Linked DNA regions of Homo sapiens: region 2 is linked to region 1. Evidence: promoter capture Hi-C in human tissues and cell types (Jung and others, 2019). All regions are on one chromosome and are shown on one strand. The core of a region is centred on a gene start or on the middle of the fragment in contact, and the rest is flanking DNA. Distances in the headings are between cores, read along the strand shown.

Region 1 (6,828 bases), core at 4,144-6,643:
GAGACCAGCATGGCCAGCATGGCGAAACATCTCTACTAAAAATACAAAAATTAGCTGGGCGTGGTGGCGCCCGTCTGTAGTCCCAGCTACTCAGGAGGCTGAGGTGGGAGGATCACTTGAGCCTGGGAGGCAGAGGTTGCAGTGAGCCAAGATCATGCCACTGCACTCCAGTCTAGGTGACAGAGTGAGACTCCATCTCAAAAAAAAAAAAAAAAAAAAATTGGAGCGAGATATATGGGAAGGGGGCACCAAATAAAATAAAGAGACGTAGTATCCATCTGCTCAAGGTAAGGGTAAGGGAGAACCCTTAGGAAATGAGTCAGAGGAGGGGGCCCTAGGGAAGGAATGAACACCCAGGGAGGGCAGGCAGGGGGAGGTGGGTCGAGGAACTCTAGGCTCAGTTTTCTTCTAAAGAAAGCCAAGGAAACCAAGCAGCAAAAGAAAAAAGAAAATGAGGAAATGAGGGTCTGCAGGAAGGGCACGGGGGGACCAGCTCAGAGGCCTGGAATGTCCCATCTGGGCCCAGATCTCCCTCTCCTGTCCTGCTCCCCTGGTTTCCAGAGCTGGGAGGAAAACACAGATGAGGAGGAAGCACTAGCGATTTGGGAAGGGGAGGTCAGCCAGCAGCAGGGCAAACAGCAAGGCCATTTGTGAGGGGCCAGGAGAGGGGAAAGTGGATGTCCCTATGCCTCCACATCTCCCACCATCCCACCTTTCCCAGGCAGCCCGCTATTCACCTGCATGATAAGCCACAGACCCTCTGCTCCAGCCAGGGTGCCTGTTCTTGGGATAGTCCTGCACCAAGAAGAGAAAAGAAAATCTATGGTCCCATGCATAAACAAGACAGGAGAGAGTGGCGAGTAGCATCTGAACCTCTGGGACAGACCACAGCCCAGAGAGTGCCAACCCTGCACACTCATACCCTGCAGGCACTGGGGCTTCAGGGGAACCAGGGAGGGTGAGGAAAGTGTTAGTTAAGCTTTTAAGGCCAGAGCCATGGCATGTCCCACCCCCTCCCCCCAGGCCTTAGTGTGTGGTGCAGTCATGACCTGTCTCAGGTCCTTGGTCACATGGGGTGTGTACTCTTACACAGCAGACACATACAACTGTGTTCCATCTCAGCTTAGCACCCTCCCTCCAAAGCCTGGGCTCCCCTGGTTTCTCCTAAGAGCTTCCTGGTGCTGCCCCAACAGCCCCAGACCTGAGCAGCTCCATGAGCAAAAAAGCTCAGCCTTTGTGCCCACCTTCCGTGCCAGCCCCAGGGCGATGTAGCATTTCTCTCCAGGGTCCACGATCTCCACCTCGAAGTAGTGGCTGCGGGTGCTGAGTGGGTGCCGGGCCTGGGCCAGCCCCACATCCACGATGCTTTTGCCCTTCCCTAAGTACTCCAGCAGCTGTGGGGGAAGAGCCAGATGGGGGTCAGGGGACAGGCTGACACCCACCCTGGAAACCTGGGCCCAAGGCAGTCTGGGTCCCACTTTCCCAGGTCTGACAAAAACTCCTGGCTGAAAGGGAAAGAATCCTAGAGATACAATGTGGCCCCAAAGTTCTAGGCCAGCATGGAAGAGCAGGATGGGGTGGGAGGCAAAGGGGAGAGCACCCCTTGCTGAATGCCCACGCTGTCTTCCCCCACACACTTTCTGGGAGGCCGGGGAAAGCAGCACAGCTAGGGGAGCGGCACACCAGGGGGCTCTAGATGCATCCTCGCCCGCTGAAAAACCCTGCAGCCTTTCCTGCTGGGAAAGGTCCGCCCAGGGTCCCAAACACAGGGGAAAGGAGAAGCAAGACTAGCTGAGAGGAAACTTGATGACTTTCTCAGGGGGCCTAATGGGGACAGGGAGGATGCAGAAGTTAGGTGCCAACCCCAGATATTCAGGGGAAGCGGGTGAGTTCAGAAGCCAATTCTGCCTGGGATGGGCCTGACATAATTTCTCAAGGTCCTTGTTTTACTTGGCTGTGAACACAGCTGTTCTTAGCTGGGTCAGGGAGGTGCTGAGGGGAGCCCAGGGACCCAGAACGCCCAGCTCTACTCCCTCATTTCATGTGAGGGAGAGGAGAGGTCAAAATGAAGACAGAGGCAGGCTTAGCTGTTCCCAGCCCCTCATTGCTCATTCAAGTTGGAGTAGGGGCGTGGAGGTAGGATAGGGGAGATGACTGATGGGTTCTTGGGGCTCTTCAGTCCCACAATGGTCCTGCCTGGGCACGACGGGGCGGCAACCCCCAATCTGGGAGGATTTATTTGTCAGTTGTCATGGTAATAGTGGGGTGATGACTCAACCCCATCCCCTCTTTCCCCCACCTTCGGCCTCACCTGGGATTCCTTAATCTCCTTTTAATTAGCCCAACTGCCCCTCACGACTTTCTTCTACCCTCCCACCCCTGCAGCCCTGAAGGAAACATGTTGCCTAGGGACCTCCTCCACGTCTCCCTGGCAAGCTTTGGGACGCCGGCCTCTCACCTCTCACAGATTCCTGCCTGAACAGGAAAGGAATTATGCCCACCTGCACCAGCACAGAAGCCTGTGCGTGTCTCCAGCAGAGGCTGCTCCCGCATCCCCACTCCCAGCCTCAGACGGCCGCTGCTTAGCTCAGGTGCTTAGAGCGGGGTGCTACTAACCCCTTCTGAGAGTAGGACTAGAGGGGCTTGGTGCCTTTCTCAGCCCTGGATCTCAGCCCCGCCACCTCAAGTCCATCCTTCCCTCCTCTCCAAAGATAACTGGGGATGGATGAGGGGGAAAGCAGCATGCACGGGAGACCACCTAAGCCCATCCCCAAGGCCACACTGTTTGACTTCTGTTCATGGTGTATTCTCTGCTCAGCCTGGGTTCCTCCTCTGCCTCTCTCCCCGGGAAGCCAGGAGGGGTGTGGCTTGATCCACATTAACTAGTTTAGACTCCACCCAGGCAGAGCAGCCCCCAGCCCACCCTCTCCACCCAGCATTGCAGAACTGGGTGGGGGACCCCACAGCTGCCTTTGACCCATTCTATCCAACTGGCCTCGGTGTAGGAAACACAGTGTTCTCCATTTCCAGAGCCAAAAGACAGCCGATCCAGACCCTGATCCTTGGGAAATACCCGGCCAGCCCCTCCCTTTGCCTCAGCTCAGAAGAGGGTAGCTGCTGCATTTCTGTCTCTGGATAGGGTGGAGGTGCTTTCTCACGCTAAAAGCCAGGACGGACTACCCCAACATGGGTCTTTAAAACCCACTCTCTACCTGCCAACCACAGAGCACTTCGGACAGAATGCTGATGTCCTGGACGACTAGGTACTTGTACAGTGTATAGGTGAGGCTTGTACAGCGTGCCCTCTTCAGAGGGGACCGCCCAGCCCTCACAGTGAAAGCCATCATAAACCTCCTGATCCACTCTCCTGCTCCTGGACAAAGCTCCCCCGACCCCTCCTGAGCCTTCCCAGAGAACTCAGAGGGGTGGAAGTGGGGGGAATATTTGGCCTCCCTGACAGATTCTTTCTTGAGTACATTCCTCTGCCTCCTTGGTCTATAGCTGTTAGGAACCTAGAGGAGGAGTGAAGGTTAACCCTTAGAGTCTGAACTGTTAGGATCTTGATGCTGGTCCCTCAACCTGTACCTCAGAATCCAACAGACCTGGGTTCAAATCCTAACTCCTATTACTTAACAGCCGCTAACCTCAGGCAAATGACATTCACCTCCTTAAGCCTTGGTTTCTTCAACAGTAAACTGGGATAAGATTACCTGAATTTCCAAAAACAAGTGGGAAGACTTAATGAAGTGACCAATACACATTGCTGCCTCTCCCTAAATCAGTGTAAATGGGGTTACGTTGGAATTGCCGATCACAAAGAAGGAAATGATCTTTCATCTTAGCCCTTACTTCCAACTACAATGGTCCCTTAGGCCAACCAGGACGATGGCCACTCCCCAGACAACTCTACCCTATGTGTCTCCTCTCAAACAATGTCCAATCAACAGAAATGTTTCTCTGCATTTTTGGTGGGGGAAGATGGAGCCCTTTCTTTGGGTCTCCCCCTAATACACACATACCACCAAAGCCCCAAGAAGCCAAAGACATGACTCAGTGCCACAGAGTGGCGGCTGCAGACCAGAGTGTGGACAGTCTCGTGCACTCCACACCCTCCCTCTACCAGTAGCACCTTCCCAGCCTCTTCTCCCCTGCCGGTATCCGCCCTCCTCCCCTTGCCAGCAGAGACCCTAATCCCTCTTGACAGGAGCAAGGAAGGGCTCAGTGCCCTGAGGGCCCAGAAGCAACTGAAACAGGAACCAAGTACACACTCTCCTGGCCAGCTCAGGCTCCAGCACAGCCTCCCTCTGGGCTGGGTCTGGGGAGGACCCCTGGGAGGGCGGGGCCTCATTCACCACCCTGTGTGTACCAAAGCTGTTGCCCCTGTCACTAAGGAGTTGTCAGAGGAGCTGTGAACAGGGCACAAACACAGAATGAGTCTAATCCCCCAGCTGTTACCTACCGCCCCCAGCTCCCCTCCACCACATTACCTCACTTTGCGAGGCCTGGAGGCAGGGATGAGGTGAGAGGCAAGTGCCCCAGCAATTCCTCAACCCCTCAGAGCTCTGAGGAGGTAGACTCTTTAGGAGGGGGAAACAGGCCACAGGAGGCAGGGGAAGAATTCCACTCAAGAAAGAGCCAGGTCTGTCTATATCCAAAGACTCAAATCTAACAACTGTTGAGGCCCAGGGCAGTGGCTCATGCCTCTAATCCCAGCAATTTGGGAGGCCAAGGTGGGAGGATCCCTTGAGCCTGGGAGTTGGAGGCTGAAGTGAACCAGCACTCCAGTCTGGGTGACAGAGTGATAGCCTGTCTTAAAAAAAAAAAAAAAAAAAAAAGGAAAGTTGGCATGACTGGAAAAAGGCACATGTCCCTCAGGAAGCTCACATCCAAGTTGGCCCCAGAGGAACGGGTGCCCCAGGAGTAGTGCTCCCACCCTGCCACCTGGCCCAAGCTGGGGTGAGGGTCTGAGAGAAGGGCCCAATTCAACAGCTTATGTCTAAAAAAGAAAAACACTCTTAAATAAGTGGCTGAAGGTGTTGGGGGGAGGGTGGGGAGGAAGGAAGGCTATTTATAAATGTCTACAGGATTCTGCATCAATTAGAAAAGATTGCCTGGGAGGAGCTGAGAGCAGAGTGGGGACAGGTCCAGGCAGAGAAAGGATGCCAGGAAAAAACTCTTGAGGAGAGGTCAGAGATGAGAGCTGGAACATCGCCCTGGCGCAGCCCCAAGTTTAACTCTGTAGATGTTGTCAGAATGATGGTAGATTGAGGGGAAAAAGGAAAGACATGAGAGTCACGGAGTGGGCATCTGAGGCCTCTTAGCTCTCGGTCGCTGCAGCCTGGGACCCTGATGCCAGACGGGGGTGCAGAGTGTCAGAAGCAGCAGGAGGGCACACTTCCTGTCATTTTCCCTGAGTTCCACTCCACCAGGGGGAGGCCTGGCTCCTAATCCGCTCCCACCCCCCACTGCTTCTGTTTTGTTATCAAAGACTGAGTTGAAAACAGCCTGGGTTGGGGTGGAAAGGCCAGAGGGTGGAGAAAAAGGCCAGGCCAGGAGCAAGGGGGTAGGAGAGGGACAATTCGAAGTGGGAGGGCTGAGCAGCCCACTAGAGGTCAGGGCCAGATCCCGGACTTGGCGTCCATTCACTCCCAATGCAGCACAGTGTATTGAGGCAGACAGGAAGAATTTTCCTTTCTCAAGGTTCATGAATTTTCCAACAAAACTTAAAATCCGGGGAGGAAGAATTCCCCTTTCTCAAGCTCCACACGCTTCCCAACGAAGCTTAAAATCCATACTAAAGCAGGTATGAGGAAAAGATAAATGAAGCAAGTTTGGAGGTGTAAGGATGCTCACTGAATCTTTATCTGCCTCCATTCTAATCCTCTATCAAATGCAGGGATAAGACAATAGAAACTGACATTGACACTTCCTCAAAAAAGATGGCTAAGAACCTTCCACCACATGTGTGGACTTCTGACCACACCTGCCCCACAACACTTTGAATGAAAAGCCTGGGCCAGGCATTTTGCCTCCAGATCAACCCCCAGCCCCTCAAAGGCAGTTGTGCAGGGCTGTAGAAGACACCAGAAGCTGAAGGAACCAAAAAAGGCAAAGCAGAACTACTTGTTCCCAGGGTCAAACTGCGAACCTGAGTTCCCTGAAGAGGAGGAAGTGAAGAAAAGAGAACATGTGCTAAAGAAAACACAGATCTGGACTCAAGGACTCATGTCAAGAGCCTAGGCTATCTTGCCAAACCCCACACGGACACTGTCCCGACTCCCCATTCCCAGCAATTCAGACATGACCATGTGCCCACAGGTGTTCTGCCCAGCCTCCTCCGACCCAGCCCCTCCCACCCTCCCACCCGCTACTTACAGTCCCACAGACTCTGACATCATGTAGCCGGCCCCATTCATCCTCGTAACTGTCCACCATCATGACGCTGTCGTCCTCACGGCCCAGCTCAGCGTTGAGGTGCAGCCGCACCTCCTCACCCAGGGAGTGCATGCCCACTGCTGGGAACAGTCCATCTGGGGACATGGGCATGATGGTAGAGCCCACCTGCAGTGGGGGGAAAGACGGAGCTGCCACCCGGCCTGCTTTTCCATAGCTCACCTAATTCTCACAAGGGTACTTTTAAGATGATGCAACCAGCCGGGCGTGGTGGCTCACGCCTGTAATCCCAGCACTTTGGGAGGCCGAGGTGGGCGGATCACAAGGTCAGGAGATTGAAACCATCCTGGCTAACACGGTGAAACCCCGTCTCTACTAAAAATACAAAAAATTAGCCGGGCGTGGTGGCGGGCGCCTGTAGTCCCAGCTACTCGG
Region 2 (5,905 bases), core at 877-3,376, 370 kb after region 1:
GTATACCCAAAGGAATATAAATCATTCTATTACAAACATACATGCATGTGTATGTTCACTGTAGCACTATTCACAATAGCAAAGACATGGAATTAATCCAAATGCCCATCAACAATAGACTGAAAAACTGTGGTACATATATACCATGGAATACTATGTAGCCATAAAAAGGAATGAGATCATGTCCTTTATAGGGACATGGATGAAGCTGGAAGCCATTAACCTCAGCAAACTCATGCAGGAACATGTTCTCACTCAAGTGGGAGCTACACAGTAAGAACACATGGACACAAGGAGGGGAACAACACACACTGGGGCCTGTTGGGGGGTAGGGTCAGGGGAGTGAGAATATTAGGAAAAATAGCTAATGCATGCTGGGCTTAATACCTAGCTGATGGGTTTATTGGTGCAGCAAAATTTGTGCAGCAAACCAGCATGGCACACATTTAACTATGTAACAAACCTGCACATCATGCACATGTACCCCAGCACTAAAAATAAAAATTAAAAGAAAAAAAGTTTAAAATATTTCAAATGCTTTAGTTTAATATGACATATTTGGCATAAAATTTATTGTCTTAAATTTTTTTGTATCCCACTTTTTTTTTTTTTTTTTTTTGAAACAGAGTCCTGCTCTGTTGCTTAGTCTGGAGTGCAGTGGCATGATCTTGGCTCACTGCACCCTCTCCCTCCCAGGTTCAAGCGATTCTCATGCCTCAGCCTTCCCACTAGCTGGGATTACAGGTATGTGCCACCATGCCTAGCTCACTTTCTTTCTTTCTTTCTTTCTTTTTTTTTTTGAGATGGAGTCTCGCTCTGTTGCCCAGGCTGGAGTGCTATGGCGTGATCTCGGTTCACTGCAACCTCCCGGGTTCAAGCGATTCTCCTGCCTCAGCCTCTCAAGTGGCTGGGATTACAGGCACATGTCACCACGCCCGGCTAATTTTTGTATTTTTAGTAGAAACGGGGTTTTACCATATTGGCCAGGCTGGTCTCGAACTCCTGACCTTGTGATCCGCCTGCCTCGGCCTCCCAAAGTGCTGGGATTACAGGCGTGAGCCACTGCGCCCGGCCACTTGTATTTTTTTTTTTTTTTTAAAGGCTGGGTACGGTGGCTCACGCCTATAATCCCAGCACTTTGGGAGGCCGAGGCGGGCAGATCACGAAGTCAAGAGAGCGAGACCATCCTGGCCAACATGGTGAAATCCCATCTCTACTAAAAAATAGAAAAATTAGCCGCGTCTGTAGTCCCAGCTACTTCGGAGGCTGAGGCAGGATTATCGCTTGAACCCGGGAAGCGGAGGTTGCAGTGAGCCGAGGTCGCACCACTGCACTCCAGCCTCGTGACAGAGCGAGACTCCGTCTCAAAAAAAAAAAAAAAAAAAAAAAGGGAGGCCATTGTAGGGAGGCCATTGTAGCAATTCAGGGGAGAGATGAATCCAGGCGACAGATGATGGGAGGTTTGGAGCAGGGAAGACAGAGAGAAGTGGAGAGATTCCAGATATATTTGAGAGACAAAACTGATAATTTGGGGTAAGGGAGGTGAAGGAGGCAGAGGGATCACGGACGCCCTCCTTGGTTTCTGGTTTAGGCTACTTGACAGATGGCGGAGCTATGCAATTGAGAGAGGGAATCCTGGGAGAGATTATGAAATCTCTGTATCTTCCGCAAGAATGTTTGTTTGCTTCCCTTGCGAGTGTAAGACGGAGCCGGGAACATTGAGGCTTGGGGCTGGGACTCAGCAGCTCTTCTGCCCTTGCCGAGAACTCTGTCTATATCTGTATTACAACACTTACCATAGTGTATTCATTTTACAAGGTATTGCACCCAGTGAACCATGAGGTAAGAGAGCAAGGGAAGAGTTTCTTCTCGGTGTCTCTAGGACTTTGCCCAGCAGCTGGCCCCGCCCCCTCCAGCGCTCTCCGCCTAGCCCCGCCCCCAGGAGATTTCCGGCTTCTCGGTACTGGCCTAGCCGTAAAGGGCTCCGCTCCGCCCCTAGAGCAACCGTTTCCTCCTCAGTCGGACCAGAGTGATTGATTAGTTTGTTGTCTAATCATCAGTCGAGCGGCCACATAATTACCAATTAGGCAGTAGCAGAGGCGGGTGCCGAAGCACGGGGTCTGGGTGACTAGGAAGAGCCGAGACTGCGAAGGAGAACGCAGCAAGCCCAGGCGGCGGTGGAAAGGTGATGGGGTATCTGGATTCCATAGGTTTTTCCTTTTCCCCTTGCTAGGTCAAGAGTCTCTTCGCAGCTTGGGGCTAGGATCTTCATTTGCCTTTTTTCTTTTTTGGAGGAAGGGGGCTGTGTCCACATATTTAAGTATTTGAGGTTCTTGGGCAACTTCCTTCTTACTTCGCCTCGAGGCGTATCCTTTTTTTAGCCTGAGGTGGGGTCCTCCCCAGGGAGAGAGAAAGTTGTTTGAGATCCTTTCTTACTCTGTGCGTGGTTAAAGGCCTCCGTACTCAGTTCCAGGGAAAGGGAGATGAGTGATGGTGGGGCCGAGACTCGCGGGTACTGCCTACTTCCGAAGAGTTAGACGCTTCCACCTGGGTGGAGGGGCCCTGGGAACTAGATTCCTGTGTTAGGAACCAAGTAGGTATTGAGGGCGAAGAAACAAGTGGAAAGAGACATTTCTTTTCTTTTCTTTTCTTTTTGAGACGGTGTCTTGCTCCGTCGCCCAGGCTAGAGTGCAGTGGCGCGGTCTCGGCTCACTGCAACCTCTGCCTCCCGGGTTCAAGCAATTTTCCTGACTCAGCCTCCCGAATAACTGGGATTACAGGTGCCCGCCACCGCGCCCGGCTAATTTTTAGATTTTTAGTAGAGACGGGGTTTCACGATGTTGGCCAGGCTGGTCTCGAACTCTTGACCTCGTGATCCACCCGCCTCGGCCTCCCAAAGTGCTGGGATTACAGGCGTGAGCCACCGCGCCCAGCCAGAAAAGAGACATTTCTTATGTGGAAGTTGTGGTAGTTCTCCAGGTAGGAGAGCCTACTGTGGGGTGGAAGACGTTAGGGCTGGGCTCCGGTGCTAAGTCCACTTCCTACCTCTAGACCGTCATCTTTTTTGCCTCATTTCTTTCTCCTCAGGCTGGAGGACACACCTAAACATGTGGAATCCCAATGCCGGTAGGTGTTTGGGGGTTCTGTTCCACCCCTAACCCTTTTTCTGATGGGCTCTATAACAGGAAGTTTCTGTATCAGCTCCCCTACCCCCGACCTGCTGTACCCGCAAAAGCAAAGTCCTTAGTCTAGAGCTGACCAGTGCTTTTTAATTTAATTTAATTTATTTATTTTTTGAGATGGAGTCTCTGTTGCCCAGGCTCACTGCAACCTCCGCCTCCTGGGTTCAAGCGATTCTCCTGTTTCAGCCTCTGGAGTAGCTGAGATTACAGACGCATGCTATCACGCCCGGCTACTTTTTGTATTTTTAGTAGAGATGGGGGTTTCACAATTTGGCCAGGCTGGTCTCAAACTCATGGCCTCATGAGATCTGTCCACCTCGGCCTCCCAAAGTGCTGGGATTACAGGCGTGAGCCACCGCGCCTGGACTGACCAGTGCTTTTGTCTTCCTCAGAGTTCACTGTCTCCCTCCTCTCCCTAGCCCTTCCAGGGACATTCCCCCTTTTCTCCCCAACTCAAGTTTGTCTCCCCTACCCTCCATTCTTCTTTGTCATCTTTCCGTTTCCCTTTAAGTATTGAGTGAGAAAGAATCTCTTTCTTTTTGTTGTTTGTTGTTGGAGACTCTGGGGAATTCTAATGTTTATTCTCTGCTTCTTCCACCAGGGCAGCCAGGGCCAAATCCATATCCCCCCAATATTGGGTGCCCTGGAGGTTCCAATCCTGCCCACCCACCACCTATTAATCCACCCTTTCCCCCAGGCCCCTGTCCTCCTCCCCCAGGAGCTCCCCATGGCAATCCAGCTTTCCCCCCAGGTGGGCCCCCTCATCCTGTGCCACAGCCAGGGTATCCAGGATGCCAACCGTTGGGTCCCTACCCTCCTCCATACCCACCGCCTGCCCCTGGAATCCCTCCTGTGAATCCCTTGGCTCCTGGCATGGTTGGACCAGCAGTGATAGTAGACAAGAAGATGCAGAAGAAAATGAAGAAAGCTCATAAAAAGATGCACAAGCACCAAAAGCACCACAAGTACCACAAGCATGGCAAGGTCAGTACCCTCTGGAGACTGGCTAGGGAAGGAGTCCCCCCTCAGAGGGACTAGGTAGGCAGGGGTTGGGTGAGGGGGATTCACATTCTGTGGACGTGAGGGATGACAATTGTGTCGCTCTGGTAGATGATTCTTCCTTTTTATAAAAGATTGCTACTGGGAAGAATCTGATTATCTTGAAAATAAACATCAGGCTTCTCCTATCTGGGGGGAGTTAGGGTGAGCCTTAGAATGGATTTTAGAATCAAAAGCCAAATCTTTTCTGCCCTACTCTCCCAGAACTTTTGCTCCCCTCCCGCCAGGTGCATATTCTAGCAAGTTGGACACGCCCACTGACATTGTCAAAATACCAAAGTCATTCCTTTGACAAAGCAAGGTCTTATAATAATTAACAGAATTAATCTGTCCCTAGTTCCAGAAGTTCCTTCTCTCTTTCATCAGTGTTCTTAGGGCGTTGTGTTAATTACATGGGTCCTTTGCCCTATCATCCAGCAGAAAAAGTGAGGACAAGAGCAGTCAGTGACTAGGCTTCTAACAAAGCCTAGGACTAAGGAGGTTTTTTTTTTTTTTTTTTGAGACGGAGTCCCGCTCTTTAGCCCAGGCCAGATTGCAGTGGCACAATCTCGGCTCACTGCAAGCTCCGCCTCCCAGGTTCACGCCATTCTCCTGCCTCAGCCTCCCGAGTAGCTGGGACTACAGGCGCCCGCCACCGCGCCCGGCTAATTCTTTGTATTTTTAGTAGAGATGGGGTTTCACCGTGTTAGCCAAGATGGTCTCGATCTCCTGACCTTGTGATCCGCCCGCCTTGGCCTCCCAAAGTGCTGGGATTACAGGCGTGAGCCACTGCACCCAGCCCTAAGGAGGTTTTATACTCAGCTCCAAGGCTAAGTATCTTTGTTTTAGAGGAGTGTTAAAAATTGGTAAGGGTGGCCAGGTGCCATGGCTCATGCCTGTAATCCTAGCACTTGGGAATTATTAGCTGGGTGTGGTGGCGCATGCCTGTAATCCCAGCTACTCAGGAGGCTGAGGCAGGAGAATTGCTTGAACCCGGGAGGCAGAGATGGCAGTGAGCCCAGATCTCACCACTGCACTCCAGCCTCGGTGACAGATAAGACTCCATCTCAAACAAACAAACAAAAAATAGCAAGGATAAAAGCAACTCTGAGGACAACTCTGGAAGGATTAAACCAATCTGCATCTTGATGAGGCCTCCATTTACATTTAACTGCCCAGTATTTATTTGCCTTGTGGATTCTAATTCCTGATTCTGGGTCTTTGATAGAAATCTGAAGAGAAGGCTGTGCGCCGTGGTCCACACCTGTAATCCCAGCACTTTGGGATTCCGGGGCGGGCGGATCACGAGGTCAGGAGTTCAAGACCAGCCTAGCCAACATGGTGAAACCTGTCTACTAAAGATACAAAAAATTAGCTGGGCATGGTGGTGCGTGTCTGTAATCCCAGCTACTCTGGAGGCTAAGGCAGGAGAATCTCTTAAACCCAGGAAGTGGAGGTTGCAGTGAGCTAAGATCATGCCATTGCACTCCAGCCTGGGCAACTGGGTGAAACTCCGTCTAAAAAAAAAAAAAAAAAAGGTCTGAAGAGAACCGAAGAGAATTGAGATTTAGTGGGGAAAAGCGGGAGAAATTACCCTGGAGAGACTGAAAAATGTTTTTATTTAATAACTAGCATTGCTGGGAGTATATGCTTAAGGAACCTTGAATAGAACTCCCAGCCTTTTC

Evidence for each region. Contacts are between HindIII fragments. The study calls those that stand out against the background at their distance.
Region 2: the fragment with the promoter of PRR13 here is called in contact with a fragment that was not itself captured in region 1 in 1 of the 25 tissues and cell types used here (dorsolateral prefrontal cortex).

The regions. Positions count from the first base shown.
Region 1 is chr12:53,066,911-53,073,738 of GRCh38, forward strand. SPRYD3 (SPRY domain containing 3) reads right to left here. Exons shown (of 11, transcript NM_032840.3): 6 at 6,376-6,561; 7 at 1,245-1,394; 8 at 738-795. Among named protein-coding and RNA genes, the nearest start is that of SPRYD3, 9.1 kb to the right of the region's middle. RefSeq lists enhancers at 4,972-5,472, 5,355-5,649, 5,473-5,973. The HindIII fragment of the contact is 7,372 bases long and covers 1,708-6,828 here.
Region 2 is chr12:53,439,608-53,445,512 of GRCh38, forward strand. It overlaps PRR13 (proline rich 13), which reads left to right and starts at 2,127. Exons shown (of 4, transcript NM_018457.4): 1 at 2,127-2,185; 2 at 3,088-3,126; 3 at 3,784-4,166. The coding sequence starts at 3,108. RefSeq lists enhancers at 1,099-1,864, 1,595-1,684 and a silencer at 1,975-2,124. The HindIII fragment of the contact is 13,829 bases long and covers 1-5,905 here.